Linked DNA regions of Homo sapiens: region 1 is linked to region 2. Evidence: promoter capture Hi-C in 16 types of primary human blood cells and fetal thymus (Javierre and others, 2016). All regions are on one chromosome and are shown on one strand. The core of a region is centred on a gene start or on the middle of the fragment in contact, and the rest is flanking DNA. Distances in the headings are between cores, read along the strand shown.

The links. The method cuts DNA at HindIII sites, captures the fragments that hold promoters and counts their contacts. A CHiCAGO score of 5 or more calls a contact.
Region 1: a fragment that was not itself captured here is called in contact with the fragment with the promoter of TERB1 in region 2 in 2 of 17 cell types (M2 macrophages and total B cells); the score reaches 6.1 in M2 macrophages.

Annotation. Positions count from the first base shown.
Region 1 is chr16:66,397,423-66,401,169 of GRCh38, reverse strand. It overlaps CDH5 (cadherin 5), which reads right to left. Exons shown (of 12, transcript NM_001795.5): 9 at 3,064-3,188; 10 at 2,609-2,714; 11 at 154-399. Among named protein-coding and RNA genes, the nearest start is that of LINC00920, 9.2 kb to the left of the region's middle. The HindIII fragment of the contact is 1,106 bases long and covers 763-1,868 here.
Region 2 is chr16:66,799,371-66,803,145 of GRCh38, reverse strand. TERB1 (telomere repeat binding bouquet formation protein 1) reads left to right here and starts at 1,562. Exons shown (of 19, transcript NM_001136505.2): 1 at 1,562-1,678; 2 at 2,093-2,169. It overlaps NAE1 (NEDD8 activating enzyme E1 subunit 1), which reads left to right. Exons shown (of 20, transcript NM_003905.4): 20 at 28-268. The coding sequence ends at 137. The HindIII fragment of the contact is 6,773 bases long and covers 1-2,587 here.

The DNA.
Region 1 (3,747 bases), core at 66-2,565, 400 kb after region 2:
CACATGAACTGGCTAAGGGCTGCATTGCAGATTGGAGGCAGGGTTGGGCCTGAACCTCTGGCCTCTACTTTTCCTGTGAAGCCTCCCCGCCTCCCAACACCTTCCATCCCCTTCCACCCACTGTGTCTTCTCCCCACCCTGCCCAGCACTGACCTGTGATGGTGAGGATGCAGAGTAAGATGGCTACCACTGCCTGGATGCTCACGCCCACCTGGGCGGCCATATCCTCGCAGAAGGTGAACTCGCCCTGCTCGTTGCACTTGCACACGGCCACGGTCAGCGTGCTGGTGCCCGTGCGACTTGGCATCCCATTGTCTGAGATGACCACGGGTAGGAAGTGGACCTTGGTATGCTCCCGGTCAAACTGCCCATACTTGACTGTGATGTTGGCCGTGTTATCTGGAAACACCAAGGCCTCGGAGTCAGGCTTTGCCATCTGCACAGATGGGGAAACCTGGCTCCTCCAGGAAGCCCTCCCTGACTGCACCAGCCTGCGTGCTCCCTGGGCTGCTTTTCTGCCCTTTGCACCCAGCGCCTCTTGTTTCAGCCATCTGAGTGCAGGTCTGTTCCGCCACAGAGGGGATATTTTGGGGCAGCTGCTTTGACCCAATCTCCAAGGATGCCTTGGTGAAAGAAGGTCAAATCCTTTGCTTTCTGTATTTGTGGGCAACTGATGCCTCTCCCCTTCCTCTTCCCTAACCCCACTCCAGTAACAGGAGGTTTTCTCTTTCAGCTCAATTAATTAATGCTCCGTTTCAAGCTTTGACAAGCAGCGGGGAAAAATAAAGTTTTAAAAAGTCTTTTAGCATTAGGCTAATTTCTAAGGCAGCTTCTGCTCTCTCTGAAAATCCATTGTTACATTGTTGAAAACAGTAAAAACAATGGACATGTCCCTTGGGGCACAGAGAAAATGATTACATATAGAATTGCGGGTTTCCCAGGCAGTTTGGAACTGGGAAATGCTTTTGTCCAAATATTGGCCCCGCCCACCTTCCCAGATCCAATCAGTGGTTTCCTGTACCCAAGAATCCCCCAGGGAGCTTTTAAAACATGCTGATTTTCAGACCCCTATGCTCACACACACTTCTTATTCAGTGGTTCTGGGCAGAGGCCAGATAATCTGCCTTTTGCAGGGTCCCAGGAGGTTGTAATGTCAACGATCAGAGAAGGATCCAGGAACTCCCTACTCCAGGATTTACTTAGCTACACAGGCTCCACACACTGGATTGAAAAACCCAGGAATCCATCTTTTCGATTTTGAATGAAAGCCAATTATATTTCATTATTCATAATTACATTTCAGCATTAAGTCTATTATATTTCAAAATAAACTATATGTCATTGACACTTATGGGAGAAACTAGAGATTTTGACATGCAGGATGTTCATGATATAAGTGAATTTGACACCAACAGACTTGCCTCCTATTGTATATGGGTGTCTTTGGGGTGGCACTGAATCTTTCTACTGTATTGCAGATCCCCACTCTGAGATGGGACTGAGGTGGACATTGGGGAGGGGGTGACATTTTTGCCACATTATTTACTTCTAATGACAACTGGGTGTTGAATGGTCTGTCATTGACTGTCAACACATCAGGGCCACCTTCTCCATCCCACAGGAGTCTCCTTAAGGACTGGTCTGTGGTTGATCCCTCAAGTCTGCCTCCAACTTTCAGGGACCCCACTCCCCAGTCTTCCTTAAATGTAGTAATGGGCTGCTGCAATACAGCCATCCTCATCCACCATAGTTTTGCCCATTAGGGACAGGCAGGAATTCCATCCCATGCTAGGTGAAGGATCACTCTATTTAAACCCAAGGGGAATTTTCTCTATTTTTTTGAGGAAATTTCAGAGGCCATGGAAGCTTGCCTACTTGTGGCTGGAATGAAGTCAACTCAGCATCATCACTTAAGTCAGCACCTACTCCTCAGAAGCTCTGATTGGCTGCTAATGCCATCACACGGGCCACCCTGCTAATCGTGAGTAATCGTTGTAGCTGAATTAAAACAAAGCTCACTGGATCCTTGGGATTTAGGATTTCACATTTCCAGTTTTGACTCTTTGGGAATGACCTCAAAGTTCCATGTTTAATGTGCAGTTTTGCTGACCCATAGAGCCTCCAGTATGGGAGGGGACTCCTTGGCTAGTTCTTGAACTGAGCTGACTGCCTGCATCCTCACATCTGTTCTGTACTCCTCGCTGGCTCCTTGCAGGCGACGTGGACTTGGGAGTTTGGATGGAGTGTCTCTGACCATTGCATAGACCAATTGTACAATGTATGTGGCAGAAATTGTACAAAATATCTAATGATTTGAAAATCCCAGTGGGAGCCTGCCCTCAATTTGTTGGCCTGGTCTTTGACCTTGGTGCCTCAAGACTCAAATAACCTCACCCCGACCCTGTTAGAGCCAACTGACTGCATTTGTTCTTTTTTTGGAGACGGGGTCTCGCTCTGTCGCCCGGGCTGGAGTGCAGTGATGTGATCATAGCTCACTGCAGCCTCAAACTCCTGGGCTCAAGCGATCTTCCTGCCTCAGCCTCCTGAGTAGCTGAGACTACAGGTGTGGGTCATCACGCCCAGCTGAACTGATTACTTTGATGCCTACCGTGATTATCCGTGAGGGTAAAGTTGTTCTCAGTATTCAAGATGAATTTGAACTTCACGTTTCGTGGTGTTATGTCCTTGTCTATTGCGGAGATCTGCAGGACCAGCTGGAGTGTGGAAGACAGGAGATGGTCAGTGATGGTGGTGGGGTGGTGGGGTGGTCTGAGGTTTAGCGATGGAGCCTTTGGGTTTAAGTCCTGACCATGGCTGTTTCCCACCTGCAACACTCACCTATTTAGTTCTTCATAAAGCCATTCTTTCTACTTCCCTGCCCCGCCAATCTACTCCCCATATATTCCCTCTGAGCCTCAGTTTCTCCATCTGTAAAATGGGCATAATGTTATTTTCCTCAAGGCTATTGTACAGGGGAACTCCTGCTGACTCTGTTGAGCAGTTCTGCCCCCCAGCCTGCCCCAGGGTGGTGCTGCCTTCCCCTCCCACCTGAACCAGACTCACCTGGCCATGGACAGCGTTCTCACACACTTTGGGCTGGTAGGGCTTGGCAAACTCCGGGGCATTGTCATTCTCATCCAAAACTTCAATGTGGACTTGCACAATGGATTCTTTTCCTGTGGGGGTTCCTGCAGGGGAGAAGACTGTCACCATTATGGGCTCAGCTGATGCTGGCCTTGGGCGGTGGAAGATGTGTGGAAGGAGGGCTGCCCTATGGAGGCCACTTTTTGCAGGAGGAGGCTGTGGAACAGAGGCCCAGGATGGTGTTCTGGATAAAAGGAGTTTGGTGGGGGGAGGTGTTAAATCTCATCCATAAGGTTTACTGAGGTATTACTTTGATTATGAGAATCAAAAAGGTAAACCACCTAAGTGCATTAAAAAAATTGTAATTAAATTCCTAAAATTAAAAATTTAATTATTTGATTAAATACATAAAACATAATAAATTAATCATAAAAGAATTGAAAAGGTAAACAACCTAAGTGAGATTGGGTCAGTAAACTAGGCTACCGGAAAAGACTGAAATGGATGGCCACTGACAATGCCTATGTCACTTACATCTTAAACATATAATTAAAAAAAATTTTAAGGCCAGGTGCTGTGGCTCACCCCTGTAATTTCATACTTTGAAAGGCCTAGAAGGGAGGATTGCTTGGGGCCCAGAGTTGGAGACAAGCCTGGGAAACA
Region 2 (3,775 bases), core at 313-2,812:
ATTTGCTTTTCTCCTTTTTCCTTTCAGGAGCTGCTGCTCAAGAGGTCATCAAAATAATCACCAAACAATTTGTAATTTTTAATAATACTTACATTTACAGTGGCATGTCACAAACTTCAGCAACTTTCCAGTTGTAGAGTAAGCAAGCACCTTAAGTAGTGTGTTAATGATTGAAACTGTAATTGCCTTCGGGTTGTGCTTTAGTCTGTAAAATTCTAAAGGAGAGCTGCTAAATTGTTTTCTTAATAAACATTTTTCTCATTTGTAATAATGTAGTCTTGTTCTTTGTGGGGAGGGGAAAGGAGACAGTCATTTTCCTAGAAAATGAATCCTATCCATTTCTCACTGAGCATCAATATTGGCTTGCTATTTCAAAGTTACTTGTCATAGATTATCCTTGTGTTTTATTAGAGATAATTAAAAATTTTTTTTCTTACCATCTTCAATAATGAATTTAAGCCATGTGCAGATGTTAGCTATGGACATTTTAGGACCATCATCATTTGTTAAAATGAATAGAATTTAAAAAGATATTTCTGGATATGTAGTTTTCCCAGAAAACAAGACCATCCCCTTGTATGTAGTATTATCTTAATTAACTTGAGTTTTGGCTGCCTAACCTACTTCTTGAAATTTTATGGGGTCATTCTACTCATATTATATATACTCTTAAATTTAATCACATGGGACTAATAGCATTCACCAGCATATTAGAGGGCAAAAAAAAAAAGGAAGTAGTAGATGCAAACAGAGTGGAAATCCAGAATCCAGAAGTGGGGGCAGTTCCCGGTTTTGGGCTTGATGTATTAATACTTAGGGCTGAGGAACGTGGTCCGTGGTGCATGACTCTTAGTAGCTAAGGCCCCTAATCTGCTGCAACTGTCTCTGAGGCCAGCGTCTCTTAAGTGAGAACCTGTTAGATTTGCTAGGGTACCTCACAGGGACTTGGTTTTCCAGACGCTAATGTGTCAGCCATTCTTTGGCTGTTCTTCACTGTATCGGGGACCTTCCCCTCGCCTTCATCGCCTAGCAGTCCCATGGGCTGCATTTTACGGCAGAGGCGGCAAGGGACAGGCCTTGGCCCCACTCTGATCCTTTGGTCCAGGCGCGGAGAAGTCCTCCTGGACTGAACTCCGGAAGCCCCCTGGTGAGGTGGAGGCCTGGCTGCCCCTGTGGGGCTGTGGTGACGATTAGCGAGGTGCCCAACAAAAGGGAGAACACACAGCACAGATGCCAGGTGGAGGGGAGGTTGGGGCTTCGCCGTCCTGTGCTTCGCGGCCACCGTCCCATAGCCAGGCCTCGTCAACCGCGTGCACAGTCCCCTAATTTTGGGGCTAATGCTCGTCTGAGGTAAAAACCCTAAAAACCGGGGGCGGTGAGATTTCTCTTTCAAATTGTAGCTTTTTAAAAAATCTTGCGGCCGGGACACCGACCACCCCATTGCCCTTGGCAACCTAGGGCACCCGCGGAAGCGTAAGACACCTTGCAGGGGCGGCGGGGCTGCCGGCCGGAAGTCCCGCCCACGGACGTGAGCCTGGTCGGCTGGGCGGGAAACCCTGTCGTGCGTCGTGGCAGGTGAGCGGTGATGAAGAAAGGGCGGAAGCTCCCGCTTGAGGGTAGACGCCACGGCCTCCGCTCCCGCGCGTTGTTGTCCTGCCTTACCGCGCTTGGAAACTCTGTATGTTGGCGCCTGTGTAAGGCGGGTTGGGCCGGCCAGGATGTCTTACCGCCCCGTCAGGCCCTTAGCCCACGTGAGAAGGGTCGAGTTGGGGGGACGGGGCCTTTATGAGCAGGTGCCAGGCCCCGGCTGTAGTCCCCACAGCCCTTGGCGGGAAGAGACAGTCATCACGTGATGCACCATTTAGAGACGTGTAAAGCCTGGCAGTATTCCCCCCTATTTCACTTCTGACTCCCCAGGCGCCTCCCCAGGTGACTTTGATGTGTGGAGAGGGTGGGACCCACCGGTGAGGTCGTTTCCCAGGGCCAGGGCCGGGCCGCATGTCACACAGCACCTGAGCGGGGAGGGCCTGCTGAGGGTGCTGATGGCTCACGAGTGGCCCGCGCGGCTAACCAGTGTCCTGCTCCCACGCAGGACTTGCGAGCCCTGGTCAGAGAGGAGCCTGGAGGGGCCACCTAAGCTCTGCACAAGGAATTCATCCAACTCTGTAGGTGAGCGGGCCGCAGGCTGAATGGGCAGGAAGCCGGGCGGGGTGAGCGCCCCCGCCTTGGAAAGGTTACGTGTCTGTTACCTGTGGAACCTGGGAGGAGGCCCTGAGGATTTATGCTCTGGGCTGGAGTGGGGGGGTGTTCATATTGCAGAGCCAGCTGACTTCTGGTACCCACAGTGCGTTTTCTGGGACCTGAATGACTGTTATTTCTTGACCGTTTAAACGATCGAAAACAAATTTGCCCCTTCTCTCTTCTTGCGTCTTCTTTAGAGGGTATTTTCGCTATATATAATTACAAGCTGGATATCCGCTGACAAAAAACAATTTAGTGGTGGGATTATCAGCCCTGCCAGCCTTACACAAAAAGATGCCATTTATCTTTCTGATATACTGGGATAATATTTCGATTTCAAAAAGCTTTCTTGGCCTTGGTGTGGTGGGCGCCTGTAATCCCAGCTACTGGGGAGGCTGAGGCAGGAGAGTCGCTTGAACCCGGGAGGCGGAGGTTGCAGTGAGCCAAGATGGCGCCACTGCACTCCAGCCTGGGCGACAGAGCCAGACTGTCTCAAAAAAAAAAAAAAAAAACTTTCTTTATTTTTATTTATTTATTTTGAGACAGGGTCTCCCTCCATCATCCAGGTTGGCGTGCAGTGGCGCGGTCTTGGCTCACTGCAACCTCCATCTCCTGGGCTCAAGGGATCTTCCCACCTCAGCCTCCCAAGTAACTGGGATTACAGGTGCGTGACCACGCCCAGCTAATTTTTGTACTTTTCTTTGGTAGAGACGGGGTTTCACCATGTTGGCCAGGCTGGTCTCCAACTCCTGGCCTGAAGTCTTCCGCCCACCTCGGCCTCCCAAAGTGCTGGGATTACAGGCGCGAGCTACCACGCCCGGCCCCCCAAAAGCTTTTGTATACATTTTCTAAATCAGGTAAACAAGTAATATTCAGCTACTTTTCTTGCTGAAATTTGAATTTGAGTTAACACTACTGTTTTGGGGAGTGGGTTGAGTGAAACGTGTAAGTGGGAGAGGTTCTCTCTGTCATCCAGAAAAAAATCCTTTTTTCCTGTGAGAATACAGTAAAGAATTTTGAAATCTCCTTGTTTGTGGCAGTACATATATTCACTAAATTACTAAAAGCACTTCATAATCTGCTTTATATGGCAGATGCTTTTGTTCTTGAGAATATACTTGTTTTATAATTTTAAATATAATTTTCTGATTATCAATCCCTTGAAAGTTATAACTTATCCTTTGCTATGGGTGTTTGTAAGCACTTCTCAAGTAAATAGATGACTTGTGTTAATGCTACCAAGTACTTGGCAAACTCTTTTTGTGCAAAGTAACCATTTATAAGAAAAAAGTATAAAAACAAAGGGAGAAAAGAGTGTGGGTGACCAGTTTTAATTTTAAAGCATTTAGGTTTAAAAGTTATACATTACCCCTCTTAGGCCAGGCACGGTGGCTCACACCTGTAACCCCAGCAATTTCGGAGGCCGAGGCGGGTGGATCACCTGAGATCAGGAGTTCGAGACCAGCGTGGCCAACATCGTGAAAGCCTGTCTCTACTAAAAATACAAAAATTAGCCAGGCATGGTGGTGCGTGC